4 separate regions of the Homo sapiens genome follow, and all the other regions are linked to region 1. Evidence: promoter capture Hi-C in 16 types of primary human blood cells and fetal thymus (Javierre and others, 2016). All regions are on one chromosome and are shown on one strand. Each heading gives the region's core, a stretch centred on a gene start or on the middle of the fragment in contact. The rest is flanking DNA. Distances are from core to core; before and after follow the strand shown.

The links. Contacts are between HindIII fragments. The CHiCAGO score rates a contact against its expected background, and 5 or more counts as called.
Region 2: the fragment with the promoter of MTG2 here is called in contact with a fragment that was not itself captured in region 1 in 2 of 17 cell types (monocytes and neutrophils); the score reaches 6.9 in monocytes.
Region 3: a contact is called between the fragment with the promoter of HRH3 here and a fragment that was not itself captured in region 1, in 1 of 17 cell types (neutrophils). The highest score is 8.5, in neutrophils.
Region 4: the fragment with the promoter of CABLES2 here is called in contact with a fragment that was not itself captured in region 1 in 1 of 17 cell types (neutrophils); the score reaches 8.4 in neutrophils.

Annotation. Positions count from the first base shown.
Region 1 is chr20:62,929,965-62,935,098 of GRCh38, reverse strand. It overlaps a transcript of DIDO1 not described here. Among named protein-coding and RNA genes, the nearest start is that of GID8, 5.6 kb to the left of the region's middle. The HindIII fragment of the contact is 6,579 bases long and covers 1-5,134 here.
Region 2 is chr20:62,180,833-62,185,966 of GRCh38, reverse strand. MTG2 (mitochondrial ribosome associated GTPase 2) reads right to left here and starts at 2,939. Exons shown (of 7, transcript NM_015666.4): 1 at 2,910-2,939. It overlaps SS18L1 (SS18L1 subunit of BAF chromatin remodeling complex), which reads right to left. Exons shown (of 11, transcript NM_198935.3): 11 at 3,453-5,134. RefSeq lists silencers at 2,721-2,890, 2,897-3,081, 3,121-3,310. The HindIII fragment of the contact is 5,602 bases long and covers 1-4,176 here.
Region 3 is chr20:62,217,842-62,222,975 of GRCh38, reverse strand. It overlaps HRH3 (histamine receptor H3), which reads left to right and starts at 2,698. Exons shown (of 3, transcript NM_007232.3): 1 at 2,698-3,255; 2 at 4,319-4,485. The coding sequence starts at 3,006. RefSeq lists a silencer at 2,484-2,593. The HindIII fragment of the contact is 16,770 bases long and covers 1-5,134 here.
Region 4 is chr20:62,404,397-62,409,530 of GRCh38, reverse strand. CABLES2 (Cdk5 and Abl enzyme substrate 2) reads left to right here and starts at 2,246. Exons shown (of 10, transcript NM_031215.3): 1 at 2,246-2,616. The coding sequence starts at 2,255. LOC105372709 (a long non-coding RNA gene) reads left to right here and starts at 2,637. Exons shown (of 2, transcript XR_936967.3): 1 at 2,637-4,641. RefSeq lists a silencer at 2,080-2,329. The HindIII fragment of the contact is 20,791 bases long and covers 1-5,134 here.

The DNA.
Region 1 (5,134 bases), core at 1,756-4,255:
AGGGAAAGGTGGTGAGTTCACCGTGGGCCTCATTCAATTGGAGGTGCCTGTGGGACACATCTAAAGCTCAAGGGGAAGAGCAGGGCTAGAGTTGAGAGTTGATGGGTACAGTATTCAGAGGAAGCCCATGGAGACAAGGAGTGGATCAAGTCCAGAATGCAGAGCTGCAAGCTGTATTCACTAAGGAAGAAGCTGCCTATGAAGGGTAGCAAGAAAGTGGCCGGGGGGTCTGACAAGAACCAGGGGCTTCAAAGGCGCTCCCTGAAGCCACAGGGTGTCCAGTTTCGAGAAGCTATGTTAGCAGTTTCCAGGCGGCAGGGAAGTCCAGGGTGAAGGTGCCAAAACTCCCCATTTGATGGTTTTTGGTGAGAGAGCAAGAAGTTGAGAGATGTGATGGGAATGGGAAACATTGGAGTGTGGTGAGCAGGGGTGAGGTGAAGACAGCGTAGTATGTTGAAGGTGTTCAGAAGCCATTAGGGCCATGCACTTATGTACTGAGAAGTGAGCAGTGAGCTAGATGCCACAAAACGCTGCAGCAGCAGGTGAGACTGAGGAGCAGGGAGGGGGGTCAAGGATAATTTCTCAGCTTCTGGCCTATGAATTTATAGGGTGGTGGGACCATCCTCTGGATAGGGAACGCCAGAGAAGAGCCTGGAAGTATGTAGTAGGGAGGTCAGAAGTCCTAAGCTCATTTTGCATGTGTTAGGTAGGTTTTGAAGTGCATTTGAGGCATTCACGTGGAGATGCCAGGGGAGCAGGTGAATGATGGTGCCCAGATCCAGGCAGAGATAAAGGCAACTACAGCCAGGTGTGCATGAAGTCTCTGTGGAGAAGGGATGGGTGGAGGGAGAGGAGGAGAGCCTGGGCCAGAGCCCTGAAGCCACCAGCATGGAGGCTCACCAAGAGTGCAGGAGAGCAGGAAAGAGGTAGGTGGGTCCCGGGACAGGAGAGGGTGCAGGGCCACACGGGTTGGCATCTGGGACAGTGACAAGGACTTCAGCCTGCTGGATTCATCAACTGCCTGAGCTTTCCTATGACAGAGGTGGGCATGTGGATGAGAGAAACCAAAGGCTTGGCCCTTACAGTCAGCTGAGGGGCAACCAGGTGTTCAGAGCTTCCAGTGTCTTGCAAGCTGAGGTGGTGGCTTTGAACTTGAGTTGTTTCATATTGAAAGAGATGAACAGAAAGAGGAGTGCTAAAGGTATATTAATCTTAAAAGAACATTAATGAGTTTTTAAAAAGGGGAGAGCAGTTTGCCCAGGCTGGAGTGCAATGGTGTGATAATGGCTCACTGCAACCTACACCTCCCAGCTAATCCTCCCATGTTAGCCTCTTGAGTAGCTGGGACTACAGGCGGAAGCCACCACACCCAGCTAATTTTGTTTATTTTTTGTAGAGGAGAGGTCTCACTATGTTGCCCAGGCTGTTCTCAAACTTCTGCGTGCAAGCAGTCTTCCTGCCTCAGCCTCCCAGAGTGCTGGGATTACAGGTGTGAACCACTGCATAGAGTGCTTCCTTTACTCAAATCATAGAATGTTTAAAAACCAGGATATCAGCCATGTTTCAAAACCACATTATTCCCATGGATGTTTTGTTTTACTCTCAAAACCCAAAAGCATAAAATCAAACCCCTACATACTGGAGACTTCAGGCTTTCAAAGAGATTGGGCAAATCAAACCACCTTACTTTTCAGGATAATTGATAAACCCATCAGTTGTTGATGCTTAGAATGGTTAGCAGAAGTAGGTAGGAAACACTCAGACCTCAATTTTCATGAACTTCACTTTTCACAGTATTTTAAACAATTAGAGATGTTGGAAAGAGGTAAGGAAGAATTTTACTATTTAGTCTGCTGCACATATTCTTTTGTTGTTGTTTTTTTGTTTGAGACAGAATTTCACTCTTGTTGCCCAGGCTGGAGTGCAATGGCACGATCTTGGCTCACTGCAACCTCCGCCTACCGGTTTAAGCGATTCTCCTGCCTCAGCCTCCTGAGTAACTGGGATTACAGACATGCGCCACCACGCCCGGCTAATTTTGTATTGTTAGTAGAGATGGGGTTTCTTCATGTTGGTCAGGCTGGTCTCGAACTCCAGACCTCAGGTGATCCACCTGCCTGGGCCTCCCAAAATGCTGGGAATACAGGCATGAGCCATGGCGCCTGGCCTGCTGCACATATTCTGACACCATGTGTCTGGTGAACCCAGACCCTGTAAAGAATCTTCACTGGTGATTGTTTGATATAGGTGACCTTCCCCCTCCCTCTTTTTGCCTGATTTTATTTCCCTTTCTAGATTATACCACTAAATCAGAAAGCACTGAATATTTTGTAAGTTTGTTTGGGTGAGAGCAAGAATAATCTTTTCTTGATTTTTATTTTTATTTTTTTAAAACCTTTAACTCCTGCTGAGGTTGAGACAAACCGTATCTAGCATACTGTTACCTGAAACAAATGTGGTAGGAGGGAAGGTGATACAGTCCTGCCATTGCAGACCAGTGGGAAAGGCCAAAGAGTATTTTGAGTAGCAATGTACATGGTCAAAGCATTGTTTATGTACTATTTCATTTGAGTTTGATTATGTAGTTTGAACCTGGCTGGTCAGGATTTGATAGACAGTTACTGGTTTGGGATCTGACTTTTCTTTTTTATAAAAATTAACAAAAAATATATGTAAATATACACACATACATGTGGATAGTTCTCTCTGTGTCTTAAGTTATTTGTATGCATGCAGCTGTTGTGATCACGTGTCTGATGGGCAGGTAGAAGTAGAAATAAGAGTTCCTATGTTTCCCAGGCTGGCCTTCAACTCCTGGGCTCAAGTGATCCTCTCTCCTGGGCCTCCCAAAGTGTCAGGATTACAGGCGTGAGCCACCGTGCCTGGCCCTACATTTACTCTTTAAATACTTTCCTATTGGAATGAAAGAGGCAGGGTGGCTCACACCTACAATCCCAGCACTTTGGGGAGGCTGAGACAGGGGAATCCCTTGAGGCCAGGAGTTTGAGACCAGCCAGGTCAACAAAGCAAGACCTCCCTGAAGGGAAAAAACCTCCAGTTCCCATTTGGGTGTCTTTTGGAAACTGCTAATACCTCAGTCTTTGTTGTTGTTGTTGGTATTTCCTCCAAACACACTCTTTCTCAGTTTTACCATTTTGTTTTTGTGAACTAAGCAAGAGCAGGAATTAATTTATATAGTTATTCATATCTGGACAAATTCTGGAAGGTTGCTGGAGTCTCTTTCACTTCTTAAAGTGTTTTCATTTAAGAAAAAAATCTTTAATTGTAGCCTGCACAATTGTAGCCCTATCCTTACCCCTAAGGTCCCATACTCCCAAGGCATTGAGGTTAGGTAGAAGGCCCAAGAATGGGGCCGGGGCCCATTGCGTCTGGAATGCAGTGTGAACTGATGGCTGTCTCTGACCTCATGGACATCCCTGCACCTTCCTCCTGGTGCTCGCCAGCAGGTGCAGGAATTCAGTCGTCTATGGGTTCGTTTCCCCTTTTTCGCGGGTCTCTATTCCGTGGTGTGAAGAGCCTGTAAGGGTAAATGTCCTATTTGGGTACAACCACTTTACTCTTATTCTGTCAGAATCTGTCCAAGCGTTTTTTTGGCTTGTTTGCTGTGTTCCTTTAAAGATGGTTGAGATAAAACCAGTCAGAAAAGAAATAGTTTTTTGCCCTATACTTAACTAAAATATTGATTTATTCCAAAGTTGTTTTTATTTACTTTTCACTGACCTCAAAGAGAAAACTTAGACACCTTAGAGAAACATGAAACATTCTCAGAGGAAGGAGTGATGAGCATGGTTCTGTATTAATGTGTTCACTCCTTAGCAGAAGATATAGAAATACTGCAGCTTAGGCCAGGCACTGTGGCTCATGCCTTCGGAATCCCAGCACTTTGGGAGGCAGAGGCGAGTGGATCCCTGGAGTTCGAGACCAGCCTGGGCAACATAGTGAAACCCCATCTCTACAAAAAATACAAAAACTAGCCAGTTGTGGTGGCATGCACCTGTAGTCCCAGCTACTCGGGAGGGTGAGGCAGGAGGGTTGCTTGAGCCTGGGAGGCAGAGGTTGCAGACAGCCAAGATCACACTACTGCACTCCAGCCTGGCAACAGGGTGAGACCTTGTCTCAAGGAAAACAACAACACAAACTGCAGCTCATTCTTTCTAAAGGTATCTGGAAAATGACAGAACTGAGAATAACATCCAGATTCAGTTCCCTGCCATGAGAAGTTCCTTTTGCCTTGTTTGTGGATATTGTTGTCAGTTCATTGCAGCTGTCTTGAGTAACTTACAGAGGCTAATGTGACCAAAGAAAGATCCATCATCCCTTGTTGTTTTTCTAGTTAAAAGTCATAGCACAGGTTTCTGGTAACATACAAATGATAAGACACTGTCCATAATTCTAATTACAACAATTCAGTTTGTATAGTAATTTGGTACAGCATTAAAGGGGGTGATGCCCTCCTCCCATCTCATTTCCCTCCCTTTTTCCTATTTCACATTTATTCTTTTGTCTAAAAGACAGAAAATTGGTATGATTCTCATATGCCGCATAGAACGTGTAGCTCCATCACATCCCACAGCTTTCTAGAGGTCTTTGGGGTTGGAACACAAAGTTTAACTTCTGTTTCTGTTTTTCCTTGAATTCTTTTGTTTCCTGGCCCTTTTCCATCTTGCCGGTTCCCCTTATGTTACCCACTATCGTCCATGCTCTCCCTCTGTGTTGGTTGTCTCAAAACAGCATTCAGCGGAATTCATTGAGTGGGTGAATTCTGTGAAGTTGCCTTTTCTGGCAGTGCTGTTACTCAGTGATGCACAAACGTAGCATTTGCCCTTTGGTAGACAAAGATCTGTGTTTTTTTTTTTTTTGTTTGTTTGTTTCTTTGAGACGGAGTCTCGCTGTCACCCAGGCTGGAGTGCAGCGGGTTCAAGCGATTCTCCTACCTTAGCCTCCCGAGTAGCTGGGATTACAGGCGCCTGCCACCACGCCCGGCTAATTTTTGTATTTTTAGTAGAGATGGGGTTTCACCATGTTGGTCAGGCTGGTCTTGAACTCCTAACCTCAGGACCTCAGGCGATCCACCCACCTCGGCCTACCTAAGTGCTGGGAACAGGCTTGAACC
Region 2 (5,134 bases), core at 1,690-4,189, 750 kb after region 1:
GCCTAATTTGCTTCCTCCTTTTTGCCCTTTCAATTTCTCTTTGGAGGCCCGCTGAGTGCTGTGCTCTCTCCCCTGCCGGATGAACAAATCCCACTGTTTTCACGCTGCTCTTTGGTGTCTTTATTTTCCTTCCAACAAGGCTGTCCTTGACCTGTCCAGCACAGTCCCCACTGGCCAAATGTGGCCATTTGGCTAAAATTAACTGAAATGTAAAAACTCAGTCCCTGAGGTAACATCTAAGTGCACACAGCCACATGTCACGAGTGGGTACATATGGGACAGCACATATTAGAACACTGCCCTCATCACAGAAAGGTTTTTTTTTGAGACAAGAGTCTCACTCTGTCTCACTCCCAGGCTGGAGTGCAATAGCATGATCTCACCTCACTGCAACCTTCGCCTCCTGGGTTCAAGCAATTCTTGTGCTTCAGCGTTCCAAGAAGCTGGGATTACAGGCACCCATCACCACGCTCAGCTAATTTGTGTACATACATATACATGTATATATATGTATGTGTATATATTTTATTTTTTATTTTTTATTTTTATTTTTTTTGGAGACAGTCTCGCTCTGTCGCCCAGGCTGGAGTGCAGTGGCATGATCTCAGCTCACTGCAACCTCTGCCTCCCGGGTTCAAGGGATTCTCCTGCCTCAACCTCCCGAGTAGCTGGGATTACAGCTGCATGCCACCACGCCCAGCTAATTTTTGTATTTTTAGTAGAGACAGGGTTTCACCATGTTGGCCAGGCTGGTCTTGAACTCCTGATCTCGTGATCCGCCCACCTCAGCCTCCCAAATTGCTGGGATTACAAGCATCAGCCACCACGCCCTGGCCATTTTTTTTCTTTTTTATTTGAGGCAGAGTTTCACTCTTGTAGCCCAGGTTGGAGAGCAATGGTGGGATCTTGGCTCACTGTAACCTCCGCCTCATGGGTTCAAGTGATCCACTCGCCTCAGCCTCCCGAGTACCTGGGATTACATGCACCCACCACCACACCCAGCTCATTTTTGTATTTTTAATAGAGACGGGGTTTCACCGTGTTGGCCAGGCTGGTCTTGAACTCCCGACTTCAGGAAATCCACCTGCCTCGGCCCCCCAAAGTGCTGGGATTACAGGCGCGAGCCACCACACCCAACCAATATATCCACTTTTAAATGTATTCCTAACGATAATACCCTGCGAGGGGTAATACTGCATGCCGAGCTATCTTCCATTTGCTTTTCCAGACCAGCTTTCCACCCTGCCCTGTGCTGTGTGTCAGGAGCCTGAGCTTGCCCCATAGGAAAACCTACTGGGACCTGGCCCTCTACCAGAGACTGGAGGCAGGAGCAGGAGGCCGGGACATGGACCTCCCTGCCCACTCAGACTGAGGCTCACACCTCCAGTCCAAGAAGCCCTCCCCAGTGACTCTTCTCCCTGTCCCGATCACTGCTGCCTTCCCTGATCCTTTGGAGTCCAGGAGTAGAAACTCCACTGCCACCAGTTCCAGGCTAAAGGACCAACTGTCATTAACCTGCACTCTGCCTTTGCAAACGGTCCCTTTATAAACCCTCCTCAAATCCTCCTGTGAGCATGAAACCTGATTTTTTTTTTTTGGGTATGTTTTTGAGACAGAGTCTCGCTCTGTTGCCTAGGCTGGAGCAGAGTGGTGCGGTCTCGGCTCACTGCAACCTCCACCTCCCAGGTTCAAGCGATTCTCCTGCCTCAGCCTCCCCAGTAGCTGGGATTACAGGCGCCTGCCACCACGCCCGGCTACTTTTTTGTATTTTTAGTAGAGATGGGGTTTCACCATGTTGGCCAGGCTGGTCTTTAACTCCTGACCTCGTGATCTGCCCGCCTTGGCCTCCCAAAGTTCTGGGATTACAGGCGTGAGCCACCGCGCCCAGCGGAAACCTGATTCTTGACTTTACATTTTTTATGCCCATCTAAAGCAGTGGAGGCTGAGACTCACAGAGGTTCAGTCACTTGCCCAAAGTCACATAGTATCCTCTGGCCTCCCTGGCATGCTGCTGACACCTGCATTTTACGGCAGGAATCTTCTCACTGAGGTTCGCCTACACAGACTTCCCAAGGGACTAAGGCCAGGATAATTTCAAAGGAATCCATTTTCTGCCCAAGTTTCGCTACGTTCTCTCTGCTAAAACAGAACTGCCTGAGGACGAACCTGCGTTTAAAACAATTTGAATTCTCCTTTCCCGTCCCCCTTTTATAATGGGTCCTCCCCTTTACAAAAGAAAGGTATTTCTCTAGTGACACTGCCCAACAACCCCTCTAATTCCCACCTACAGGTCTGTGTGAACGCCGTTCCTCGGTATCCACAGCTACGAGAACGTAAATGGGAATAGAACGGGTAACCCGCTCTCACTGGGCAGAAGCCAGCCACGGACAGTGAATTATCTGGAAATGCGTCTCCCTGAGGCGCGTTTACAATACAAAACTTTATTGTTGTTTTATCATCCAAATGTGTATATATTTATGTTGTTTTGTGCAACTGTATACTGCCAATAATCACTTTAAAATGTTTAATACTTAGAGCGCTGGATCAAGGCAAATTCCTAACAACTTGACTCGGAACTCACACACGGCACCCATCCCGTGACAGAGCACCACCGGGGTGGCTGACAAGACTTCTGACCCCAAAACGCGGTTCTGCGGAGAGAGTGGGGCAGGACCGGGGAGCAAGGCGCCGCTCCCCACCGCCCGAGCGCTCGCTACTCCAGGGCCGCAGCGCTCGGTCCCGCCGGGGTTCGCAGCCCGGCAGCCCTCCAGGCCTCTCAGCTCCTAGGCCGGGGCCTCTCCCGCTCCCAGCGCCCCGGTACCCCGCGGCCCAAGCCGAGGCCCCTCCTTGCGCCCGGGCCGCGACCACCCCCCAGGCCCACGCTCCCCGCTCCCCGCTCCCGCACTCACCGGCTCGGGAAAGCACGTCACTTCCGGAGCGTCGCAAGCGGCCGACCACTTCCGGGGCCTTTTGGCTCCGGAAGCCCAAGGCTTGCCCAGTGCGCAGGTGCAGAAAACACGCCGACGGACCGAGAGGCGACCTTGTCCCTGGTAGCGGAAGCAGGAGCAACGGCAGGAGGGATGCGGAGCGCTCAGCTGCAGCCGCGCTTCTCGCCGGCGCCCTCGCTGCCCGAGCACAAGGACAGCCGCCCCGCCCGTTCCACCCGGTGCCCAAGGTCCCCCAGCTTCTCTGACCCCTCCGGCGTTTGCGGAACCTCCCGGGTCTGACGAGGACACCGCCGTTGCCCGAGGAGGCTACGGGGCAACGCAGAGCAGGCAGTGGGGACCGCAGGGCAGCCCCGGGGCGCCGTCCCCACCGCCCTTACCCTGGCTTCGCCTTGCCGCCGCGGGGAATCCGGTGCGGACGCACGCGAACTCTGCCCGGGAGCCGAGGTGACGATCTACCTGGTCTCGGTAATAAGTATTTGCAAAACACATCACACCAAAATCCCGTTAACTTCATGAAAACTCACTTTATAGGATGATTTTTGAAGAACCAGTTTATTAAGAGATTACACCAAAAGCATAAACAATTTATACGTCAAACTCCGACTGAAAAAAAAATAACCGATAAGGATGTTTTTTAAATGTACTGTACTCACAAATAACAAGACAAATTTGACCTGTTCAATAAATAGAAATGAAGTGGCTAAAAATGTTTAAATGGAAATGGAAAACAGTCGTCTTCTTTGTACAGTTTTGAAGGGGTGCCCCCTATTCACGCCTACACGTAGAAAAACCCTGACAAAATCAGAGGTTCACTTAACACTCCAACCATATGAGCGTATTAAGGTTTCTTTTCAGATCTTAGGAGATCTTGTCCACCTTAATCCCATTCACAGATCTTAGGAGATCTTGTCCACCTTAATCCCATCATAAAGACTGTTGGCATGAGTTCTGATGTACTGTTTTAATATGCTGAGTACTGTTGATTCAACAACAAACCTTAATGGGTGATGAGCTTTTGCATACCAATATGAATTTGTCAGCACTTCTGAAAACTGGCCATCATTTTTCAAATTCACAATTTGCTGGATGTCAGGGAACAATAGGAAGAAGAATGAGCGTCAATTTTCATGTCTTCCTTTGCTTCTTCACTGGCCTTCCATAGAAGTAGTCAGAAAAAAACAAAGCACCATCAACCACACTTCACAAACAATTCATGTTGGCCTAAGCTTTGCTCAACATTCATATGACAGAAGATAGAATAATGAAAAGGAACTGCTGGCATCACTTTCCCCATAATATTACATAAAAATGGACAGCACATTAAATAAACATTCTGTTATTAATCATTAAATATATTAACACCAAAAATCATGTATAAATTAGGAAATAAATGTACAAACTATTTTGCAAAGTGCTTTTTAAAATATATACACAACATTCAAGATATTCTTAATGTAAGACATTTCAGATTGAAGTTTTGGGGTAAGTGTCCTTTTCTTTCAGAAAGTATTATTAATACAGCACTTAAAAAAACACACAAACACACAAAAAAGGCATATTCCCAGATTGGCAAGGAATAAAAATAAACTATCTTCACAGTTATCTAAAATGTTTAACATTTTCAGTGGGAAATTTTAGTCCCCGATTGAGTTTGCAAATTAGGTCTATGAAAATTGACAGGAAAAGAACACAATCAAGGGAGATGACTCCCTAACTGAAATTGCTAACGCGTTTGTCAATTAGCAATTAAGAACTCTCATTTCGGTGATCGAATATGAACACATACGTTTATTTTTGAGCCCTTACCAGTGTTAAGGGTTTTAGAAACCCTTAGTGCCTACAAAATAAACACTTCTCTCCCCATTTGTGCGTGACATCCGTCTCCTAGGAGAGGGGAGAATGTCCTAGAACAGGACTGGTATTCAACACAGGCAAGTCCTTTAATCTGTGCCTCAGTTCTTCATCTCTAAAATGGGAACTGTTACCTGCCTCCAGATTTCCTCATAGGGGCTGTCAGAATTAATTCAAGCAAAACACATAAGTGACTTATAAATTCTAAAGCACCCGACTCTGGATAAAGAATTAATTTTAACTTATTTATTTATTTATTTATTTATTTTTTTGAGACGGAATTTCACTCTTGTTGCCTAGGCTCGGGTGCAATGGTGCGATCTTGCCCCACCACA
Region 3 (5,134 bases), core at 1,449-3,948, 710 kb after region 1:
CCAGCCACATGCACCCTGCATTGCCGTGGCCACATCAAGCCCCACCCCAGAGGACAGTGGCCTCCTGTTTGGGCAAGGACAGGGGCCTCTGGCATGGCTGCTGGTCATGCTGGTGCGCTTGCTGGCCTCAGGCTGGGCTGGACATGTGGCCATGGAGAGGGTGCGCCTGCGTGACCTCGGGCGGGGGAGCTCACCAGCACTGCAGGGAGGCAAGTCCTGCCCAACTTTATGGTCTTGCAGGGGCTGGTGAGGTCAGGTACCAAGCACTCCCACCGAGTCTGGCTGAGTCTAGGGGGCGTTCACGGCCGCCAGCCACTGTCATCATCAGACCTCGGGGACAAGCCAGGCCCTCTCCTCTCTAGGTAGCCTCCATTTACAGCAGCTTAGAGAAGTTTGGTAACTCAGCCGGGGTCACACAGTTGGGTCCCCACTGCCAGGGGCCAAACCCCGGGGCCTCCTTCTGACTTCCCGCAAGCGTGCCCTGAGGTGACCCACAGGCGTGTGATGGATATGTGTCACCACTGTGGTGACAGGCTGCAGAAGTGGGTCCCCTGGCCGATGCCACGCTGTGTGGGATTCCCCGCCTGTGGGTCCAGATTCCATGGGCCCCTGGATCTTGGTGCAGGTTCCGCAGGGTTTCAGAACAGCTGTGGGGCAGGTGTGGGCTCAGCTGTCCCTCCTGAGGCTCTGGGGCAGAGAGAACACCAGGAAAGCTCCCTCTGTCTGGGTCGTCTGGCTCAGGCCAGCACTGCCCAGGCTCTCCGGGGCTGGTCAGTTCACGGGGAAGCCTGGGCAGCTGTGGATGACAGGGGAGGAGGGGTGGGGAGGGAGAATGGCTGGGCGGGCCTCCAGACCCCTTCATCCTTGGTTCTGCTTGGGATTCCAATTTATATTCCCCATTCCAAGATGGGGACACTGAGGCTCCAGCCAGTGAAGGAGAGAGCCAGGGCCCCCTCTTAACCCCCACCCAATGCCATCTCCTGCAGCCTCAGTGGGTATTTGGGGAGGAGAAGGGCCTGGGGAGGAGTCCTCTCAACAAGGAGTTCTGGTTTGGGTGGGGACAGTGAGTCAAGAGCTGCAGCAGGCATGGGTGGCAGCTCTGATGGCCCCACAGCCCCTTGCTGCCCAGCTCCATGGAACTTTTCCCCTTGAAAACTTTTCCCTGGTCCAGGCAGAGTCCCTCCACACTGGGTGAGTTGGGGTGGGGTGCAGGGAACGTGGGGGAGCCTGTATGAGGAGTAGGGTTTGCAGGTGGAGTGGGATGAGTACAACCAAGCAGTCAGAGAGGGAAGCCGAACCCCTCCCCCAAGAGCAGACTCCTAGAAGCCGTGAAATAGTGGGCTGACTGGGGCCACGGGTCTGGGGGTTCCTTTCTGCAGTCAGCCCTGAGGTGGCAGCAGAGGAATCCCAGCTCCTCCTTCCCCAAAGTTTCTGAAGCGCCACGGGGGGCGAGGGGAAGGGGCAGGTCCCCACAGTATGGGGAAGCTGCTATAAGTAGGGGAGTGACGGTGCATGTCAGCGCCCGGGGTCCCCTCTGCAGCCCCTCCCCCAGACACGCGCACTCTGGCCTCTTTGAGGCACCAGGGATGCCTTCGGCTGCTTCCTTCTCCTGTGAGCGGAGTTGCTGCTTCCTTCTCCTGGGGCGCGGCTCCCTCCCTGCCTGCTGTCTGATGTGTGTCTCGCTCTTGGTGGGTCCTCAGCCTGGCGCTGGTGGCTGCTTCCCTGGCCTGTGGGTGTCTGTGTATCTGAGTGTGGGCATGTCTGTCTGTCTGCCCTCAGTGTTTCAGGAGGAATCTGTCCTTGACCCGGTGTATCTGAGCGCATGTGTCTGGTGGTGGGGGCGCTCCCTCCTGCCACCTCTCCTCTCCTCCCCCGTCCCCTCCCACAGGCGCTAACACAGCCACCACCTGCGCCCTGAGCGCAGTGACCTCGTCTGTCCGCTGCAGTGGCGACTGCCCCTCTGTCCACAGGGGTCCGTGGCTGGGCTCCGAGCGGCTTGCTGCTCCCTCCTCAGCCTGAGGCCGCCGGAGCCCAGGCTAGACGCGCTCCCCTCCGGCTGGGTCCGCCCGGCGCCTCATCTTCCCTTATGTAACTCCACATCTGCCTGCGCCTTGCGGGTCACCCTGGACCCTGCACTGGGCCCTGTCCACACGGAGGCTGGCACCCAGGGTCCGTGCAAACGGGAGGTGGAGCGGACCCCTGGTCTGGGCACCGGCTTTCCAAGACCCCCTCCTCCCCATCCCTTCTCCTCCAGACGTTCCTTGCCCCGGAGACCCACATTCCCAAAACATGCACCGAGGAAATGCCCCGCAGGGCAAGTCCCCGGAGCGCGGGTGCAGGCGTTTCCCCCACCCCCACCCCGGGTCCCCACAGGCGCCAGGGCTCTCCATGATGACCGGGCAGGGGTCACCAGGGCCGAGGGCACGGGAAAGGCCGAGCAACCCAGACCCCGGCTCCGAGTGCGCGGGCTGACTGACCGCAGGCGAGCCCCCAGACCCGGTCAAGCCCCGGCCGGGCTCCCAGCCAGCTGCTGTGAGCGCAGGGGCTGGGCTCCAGGCAGCCTGGCGGGCACGCGGCGCTGTCCGTGGTGCTGCCGGCGCCGGGCGGGGCGGGGGCGGGGAGGGGGCGGGGCGAGGGCGGCAGCCAATGGCGGGGGCGCTGCGCGGGGCGCGCGGGGCGGTGGGCTGGGCGCGGGGCGCACTCGGCTGCGCGTTGCGCTCCGGCTGCACGGTCGCACCGGCAGCGGCTCAGGCTCCGGCTCCTCTCCCGCTGCAGCAGCCGCGCTGCCGGCCCCACTGGGCTCGGATCCGGCCCCGGCCCCCTCGGCACCGCCTGCTCTGGCCCCGGCCCCGGCCCCGCGGACCATGCGCTGGGCGCCCCCAGGGGAACCCGACCCGGCCAAGGGCCCGCAAAGACGAGGCTCCCGGGCCGGGGCCCCTCCCGGCCGCCCAGCTCTCGGCCGGCGCCCTGCCCCGCGTCCCGGAGCCGCGTGAGCCTGCGGGGCCATGGAGCGCGCGCCGCCCGACGGGCCGCTGAACGCTTCGGGGGCGCTGGCGGGCGAGGCGGCGGCGGCGGGCGGGGCGCGCGGCTTCTCGGCAGCCTGGACCGCGGTGCTGGCCGCGCTCATGGCGCTGCTCATCGTGGCCACGGTGCTGGGCAACGCGCTGGTCATGCTCGCCTTCGTGGCCGACTCGAGCCTCCGCACCCAGAACAACTTCTTCCTGCTCAACCTCGCCATCTCCGACTTCCTCGTCGGTAAATCCCCAGCCCCTGGCCGCTGGGGACCCAGGGGCGCCCAGCGTGGCCGGGCCAGCGGGGACTGGAACACGGACCTGGGTGGCTCCCGCAGGCACACGCCCCACCAGGGGACCCGGCCTGGGAAGGGGGCGTCCGGAGCCCATGGGGTGGGGGGCACAGGCGAAGTTCCTTGCCACTCAGGCCTCGGGACAGGGGCTGGGGAGAGATGTCCCCGGGAAGGGACACGGGCACTGGGCGAGGCGCAAGGCGCAAAGGCAGCGGGTGCAGCTCTGGCTCCTGCGCTGTAGCCAAACAAAGGCTGCTGCGGACTTAGGACGCGCGGAGGGCGCAGTGGGGCGGTTTAGAGAAGGTCTGGGGGAGGGGACATGGAAGGGGGATTTTTAGAGCTGTGTTGGGGGAAGGGACGGTGGGGAAGGTGGGGGTTGGGGGAGACGCTCGGAGGAGCGTGCTCTCACGTGTCCAGGCTCTGCTGCCGGCTGGGGGGCGGGGCACGCGGAGGGGGCTGGAGCGCCAGACACCTGTTGGGGCTGTGAGGTGCGTCTCCCAGACGCTCCAAGCCCGCTTGGCAGTAGTAGTAGCGGCTGGCGGCTGGCGGCTGCAACCAAGTGCCCTTTCAGCCAGGAGAAAGGCTTTCTCCTTGTCTAAGCTGAGACCGAGGGTTGTCCAGCGCCAGGGTAGGGGCTGGAGTCCAGCGGGGGAGGGGAGAAGGAAATTGTCTTCTTTCCTCCTTTGAGGGCTGGGAGGGCTGGACAGAAGTCCAGGGAATCCCGACTCCAGGCTCTCGGGGGTCTTGTGGTGGCCAGAGTTCCCCATGCCTGGATCATCCCTCCTGCCCCCAGGCCCAGGGGACACAGATAGTGCTGGGAGCTATGTGGGGGTGAAGGCTGGCGGCAGGGCAGAGTTTGTGGCTGACACCAGGTGGAGGGGTGGTAAGATGAGGATGGCTAGTTCCAGAAAAGCAGCCACCATGTGACCCCAGGTCCCGCCGGTGTCTGCGCTTAGGTCCGTCTGTCCCCTGGCCCCTGGCTGCATGGTCCCACTGTGGCCCTACTCCCCACAGGCGCCTTCTGCATCCCACTGTATGTACCCTACGTGCTGACAGGCCGCTGGACCTTCGGCCGGGGCCTCTGCAAGCTGTGGCTGGTAGTGGACTACCTGCTGTGCACCTCCTCTGCCTTCAACATCGTGCTCATCAGCTACGACCGCTTCCTGTCGGTCACCCGAGCGGTGAGTCCTGGGCTGCGGAGCTCCTGTTCACTCCGCAGGGACAGTCGGGACGCCCATGGGAGGCACCTGGGTGGGGACGGCCACTTCTGAGTTGTGGGCAGAAGTGGGCTTGGTCCCACTGGCTTTGCTGCTGACACATGGGCCACTCGACGGCCAGCTGCCCACTCGGGGCCATGGCTGCAGCCAGACTGACCTGGCCCAGGCAGGAGACGGGGAATCTGGATGCAGATGGTCCTGAAGGCAGGGCTGTCGCTGCAGCCCCCGCCCTGGGGCAGGTCCACAGTCCCCGGAGTTAAGGGAGGATCTGGGGCCAGACGCCCTGGGTGACATCCCTCCCACATGCGTGTGTGCAGCGTGCACACACACACAGGCCCCGGGAAGGCAGGCGGCAGATCCTGGCTCCGCAGATTTCCCTTTGTGGGAGCGGCCACCTGAGTCAGGGACCCTGCCCCACCCAGGCTCCCGCATCGGGGCCATGCAGCCCAGGGAGCCGCTGCTGAAGTCACACCTTCCCCTTCTCATCTCCTTGGCAGCTCACGTCCCCAGGGCTTTATGAGGGCCTCTGCAGGACTGAGGGCAGGTTGTTTGGTTCTAGCCTAGAAAGGCTAAGAGACAGGGTGCAAAGAGCATGGCTTTGGGTTCCTCTTGA
Region 4 (5,134 bases), core at 997-3,496, 520 kb after region 1:
CGGAGGGGTGCCAGGGCAAGGGGGAAACTAAGAAGTCAGCCCAAGGGCCAGGCCTGCAGTCAGGAGCATCCAGACAGAGCCCTGCGCTTGACACCTGCTCAGAGTTCAGGGTGAGAGCCAAAGAAAATAAGGAGCGAAACTCATGAGCAGGGCCCTCTGCAGCCAAAGCACCAAGGTGAGCTGGGCATTTAAAACCACGCATCACAGGGATGGCAGGACACGGGCCAACGACTGGGCTGGGTGAGGCCTGGGCCAGACTGGGGTGCGGGCCTGACTCAGGGGGCACTGCCTCCCACCTGCAGCCTGTGACATGTCTGCCTGTTGTCCTGAGAGGCCAGAGGGACTGAACTCCCAAGAGGGAAGTCCAGGTGTGTTAAAGGTTGCTTTAATTTCTCCAGAATCACACGAAACAAAAGCCGTGTGTTCCCTACACACTGCCCGCAGGCCAGGTTGGCTTTTGGCCACCCATCGACACCCTGGGGAGGGGAGAAGACTGGCAGCGGGAGCCTAGCAAGGGGGTTCACCAGACCCAGGAAGAGACCCCGTTCCTTCCTCAGCATTCCTCCTTGTCCCTCAAAGTCTAGCTTAGCGCCAGCAAAGAAGAACTGGCTAGGGGCCCCCCTACTGCACAGCCGATCCCCAGGACCCGGCGCTGCAGCCAGCACGGACAGCTGCCTCCTGCCTCCTGCGTCCTGCCCTCCACCCTCACTCGCCCCTTTCTGTTCTCATCTGACACCAGATTCTCTGCAAGCTGCTGGTGTATGGCCCACCCTCCCCTGTCAGGCCCCTCCTCCTGGTGATAGCCAGCAGGGATGGAGGGCCCACTGTGTGCCTGCCCCAGCCTCAGCACCCTACAGCGCTGGACACACTCACTCCCCGCTCACGGGAGCCCCCAGGCACACAAGTCAGCACCCCATTCTGTGGATCCAGAATCCGCAGCCACCCCTCTGCTATGCCACCCAGCCCCGCGTTCTCCTAGACAGGACAGCTGCCCACCTTCCCCTAGGCCTGGCAGAGGCCTTGGAGGCCAACTTGGAAGGGCGGAGGGAAAGGAAATGGAGGTGCTGCATGCTGCGTGAGCCCCAATGGTGGCCCGTGAAGGCCCACAGGAGGGAGCAGGCAGGCGGGAGGTGGGTAGGGGCCTGAAGGGCAGGGGCCCATGCTAGGGGTGGTGATGAAGACCCTGTCTTGCCCACTCGCCCACTGCCTTGTTGGCCATCATGCTGCCTCCCCACACACCAGGTGCTCCTAGGGCCAGCGCTGTGCCTGTCGGTCCCACCGGGTCCCCAGCACCCAGCACAGGAGAGGCTGGGCGCATGCGGGCAGGTGCGAGGTACTGCAGCGCATTCGCGGACTGACCACTGCATGTGCCTGGCCTCCGGCCACAGCCCGACCCCCTCACTGAGCCAGTTTCATCCTGACAGTACCCTGAGGCTGAAATCATTGTCCCCTCTTTAAAGATACGTAAACCCATGAAAGAAAGCTGGACAGAGCAGGCAGGTGACACAGAGGTGGGTGCAAGGTCCTGAGTCCCTCCACAAAGATACAGCGGGTTCCCCTCCAGACTGCAGACAGGCTCCCGGGCTCCAGAGGCAGGCCCTGACCATCCCGGTGCCACGGGCTCACAGGTTCTGAAGTCAGGGGCACCCAGGCACAGAGAGGAAACAGGCCTGGGCACAAGGCAGGCTCAAGGTCACTTTGCTACTGCAGGAAGTGCAGGACTCTGCCTGGGGCTTTGATCCCAAGCAGGTGCCTTCTCCACTCAGACCCTCGTTCCCTTCTGTCAATGAAGGAGGCCAGATGGCACGCGGGCCCTTCCGGGAAGCGGTGGGGCTCCTCCAGGGGCCGCCCTGCGCCCGCTGAAGCGCCGCCCAGACACACCTCCGGACAGGGAAGTGTGCTGGGGCCTCACCCACGCCGCCCTGGGTCCGGAGCCTTAAAATGTGCGCTCGATGGAGGCCATCCGCGAAGGCCGCCATACAGCAAAGGGAACAGAAAGCGAGAGCCCCGCGGCCGCAGGTCCCAAGACGGGGACTCGAACCGGCGGGGAGGCGCGCAGCTCCCGACTCCCTGCTGCTGCGTCCGACCGCCTCTAGGACCCAGGGGAGCGCCCTGAGCGCGGCACCTCGCTGGCCAATGGGAGAGCGCGACGGCGATACATTTGCATGTGGGCGCGCCGCGGCCAATGGGCGGCGGGCGCGCGGGCGCGCGGGCAGGGGGTGGGGCGCTTCGCGGCGGCGGGCGCAGTCTGAGGATGGCCGCGGCCGCGGCCGGTGGAGCCCCGGGCCCGGCCCCCGGCCCCGCCGGGCCCCCGCCACCCGCCGCGCCGACCTCGGCCGCTCGGGCCCCGCCGCAGGCGCTGCGGAGGCGCGGGGACTCGCGGCGCCGCCAGGCCGCGCTTTTCTTCCTCAACAACATCTCCCTGGACGGGCGGCCCCCGAGCCTGGGCCCGGGCGGAGAGAAGCCCCCGCCGCCGCCCGCCGAGGCCCGCGAACCGCCAGCGCCGCCGCCGCCGGAGCCCCCCACCGGGCTGCCCGCCAGGACCCCCGCGCCCCAGGGCCTGCTCAGCCCCACGCAGGTGCCCACCGGCCTCGGCCTGGATGGGCAGCGCCAGAGGTGAGTGGGGGCCCGGCCAGGTCAGCCCAGGACGCGGGGTACAGGGACGGGGACGGGGGCCGGATCAGCCCAGGACTAGGGGTCAGGATTACTTGGGGCCTCATCAGCCCAGGACAAGGGGGTCAGGTGACCTGGGGCCTTGTCAGCCCTGGACAGAGGCCAGGACAAAGGGGTTGGGTTCACCTGGGGCCTTGTCAGCCCTGGACAGAGGTTCAGGTGACCTGAGCCCCTGTCAACCCAGGACACAGGGGTCAGGGTCAGTCTGGGCCCTCATCAGCCCAGGACACAGGGGTTGGGTTCACCTGGGACCTTGTCAGTCCTGGATACAGAACTGGGGGTTCCTGGGCTGGCTGAGGGTTTCCTCAGGCCCTGTCACCCCCCACACATAGGGTTCATTGTCCCCTGAATTCTCCCAGCCCCTGAATACGGGGTCTGGATCTCCACGTTGTCAGTGCTCTGAAATGGGTTTTAGGGTTCAGCCCTTATTACCCCTGAGACCCCCAGCCCTGTGGGTTCTGGACATGCCCCCACCCCCATCCACTGGTACCAGTGCCCGGGACACAGGGACACATGGACAGCCCTGTGCATCTCTTCGCATTCTTTGAACCGGGCCACACCGTCCATGCCCACCTCCTCAGACCCAGCATGTGGGCCGGGGTCCTCCTGGCACTGTCACTGACACCTGTTCCCAGAGGCCCCTGCACAGCCACATCTCCCATCCCACAGCCACTGGTCTCTGGCACCCCTCCTCTCCCTGTCACTTCCCTGCTGAGCCCCGCCCTTCCCCACATCACTCTCAGCTCGGTATCTTTGGGTCTGTCACACCCTGGGTCTCCACTGCTCCCCCTGCCTTGATTCCATTTCTGGGAACCACCTCAGCCCATCCCAGGGCAACCCCAACCATGAGCCCTGCCTGTCCAGCGTGTGCCCCCTGCCCAGATGGCCCCTGGCTGCCCGACACCCTGTGTCCTTCTCCCAGAGACCACAGGACCTGGGTGACCCTGCCTCCCACAGCCCTCACCTCCAGGAGTGACTGTGGGCTCTGGGCCCAGGACTGGCTGCTTGTTGCGGTTCCTTCTCAAAGGGAGCCACTGTCCACAGGTCCAAGTGCCTGCTGGGCGGCTGTTCCCAGAGGCAGCCCCTGCAGGTGTGCAGCAAAGGGGCCGACACAGAGCTCTTGGGTCAAGGCTGGCACGTGCTCCTTGCTTACCTGGAGGTCATCAGAGTTGCCCCACGCCCCTGGCCTTCGGGCAGGTGGAGGCATTGGGTTCCTCTAAGGTCTTTGGTTGGGGAAGTTTGGGCCCAGAACACAGCACTCTGTCCTCAAAGACTATGACGTCACATGCAGGTTGCGTCACACGCAGGTCGCGGTGCACTCCATCCTTGGAAGTGTTCCTGGCCGTAGCCAGGCTGAGGGTGCCTGCAGACCCAGGCCTGTCCACAAGATGTCCCCCCACGGACATGCCTGGCCGCTGCTCCAGGGAGGGTCAGAGGGATGATTGGGGCAGAGGGATGGATTTGCCCAAATGTGGCAGCCAGGCCCCATGCATTTGGCATGGCCAGCTCCTTCAGGAAGGCGGGAGAGATGGAACAAGGTGGTGACTCTCCAGGGCAGAGCGGCAAGGCCCTAAGGTGTGGACTCCAGGGGAAGCGGGCTCACCCCAACGGGCCGAGCTCCGCAGGTGTGGTGGGCTTTTCCCTAACCCCGGGCCCTGTTGTTTGACATGGAAACAGCTTTCTCCCTCAGTCCTGCATGTTGAGTGTCCAGAACCGGATGGTGACACCAGGCAGACTGGGTGCTGTCATAGGCCCTCCTTCCACAGAGTTCATGCACCCCTGTGTGCACCAGGCCTGGCGTGGAGTGGAGCCCACTTGAGTGGAGGGAGGCAGAGCGTGGCGACGCGCAGGGAAGTGCCTGTGACTGAGAAGGCACCCCCTGCAGGCCCAGAGCCTCCATGGTGACAGTTCTGAGCGCAGCATGCTGCCCACGTGCAGCACATCCCTGCCCTGTGGGATTGTTAGAAGGTGCGCTGTGGCCGGCATCCCTGGGACAGGATGGGACGTGGCATGGGCTGGGTGCCTGCAGTCCTCCTGCCGTACCCACCATGGGCCCAAGCGCCACCACCCCTTGCCTTGCCCAGGGCTGTCTCCTCCCTTCCCTCCTCCTTGGCCCCCATGTCCCTGTTCAGGTCTTTCCTGAACCCCACTCTGTTCCTGGAGGGGGAGGCGTCCCTCCTGGGGCTCTGCTGCCAAGTTCGTGGTGCTGACCTTGTTTCTGAGGGCCATGGCCCCTCCCTGATAGGTAGACCCCAGCGTGAGGACGTCCATTTCACCCTGCGTTCCCTGGGCCTGGCTGCTGATCGAGGGAAGGGTGGCTGCCCCGGCAAAAGGGGCTGCTAGCTCCTGGCTTGAGAGTTCTAGGATGAGTTGGTTTCAGGAAATGGAGAGAATTCTGAAAGTCCTGAAGGCAGCCCTGATGTTGGTCTTGTGAGTGTGGTGGTTTGACCTGGGCTCTGGG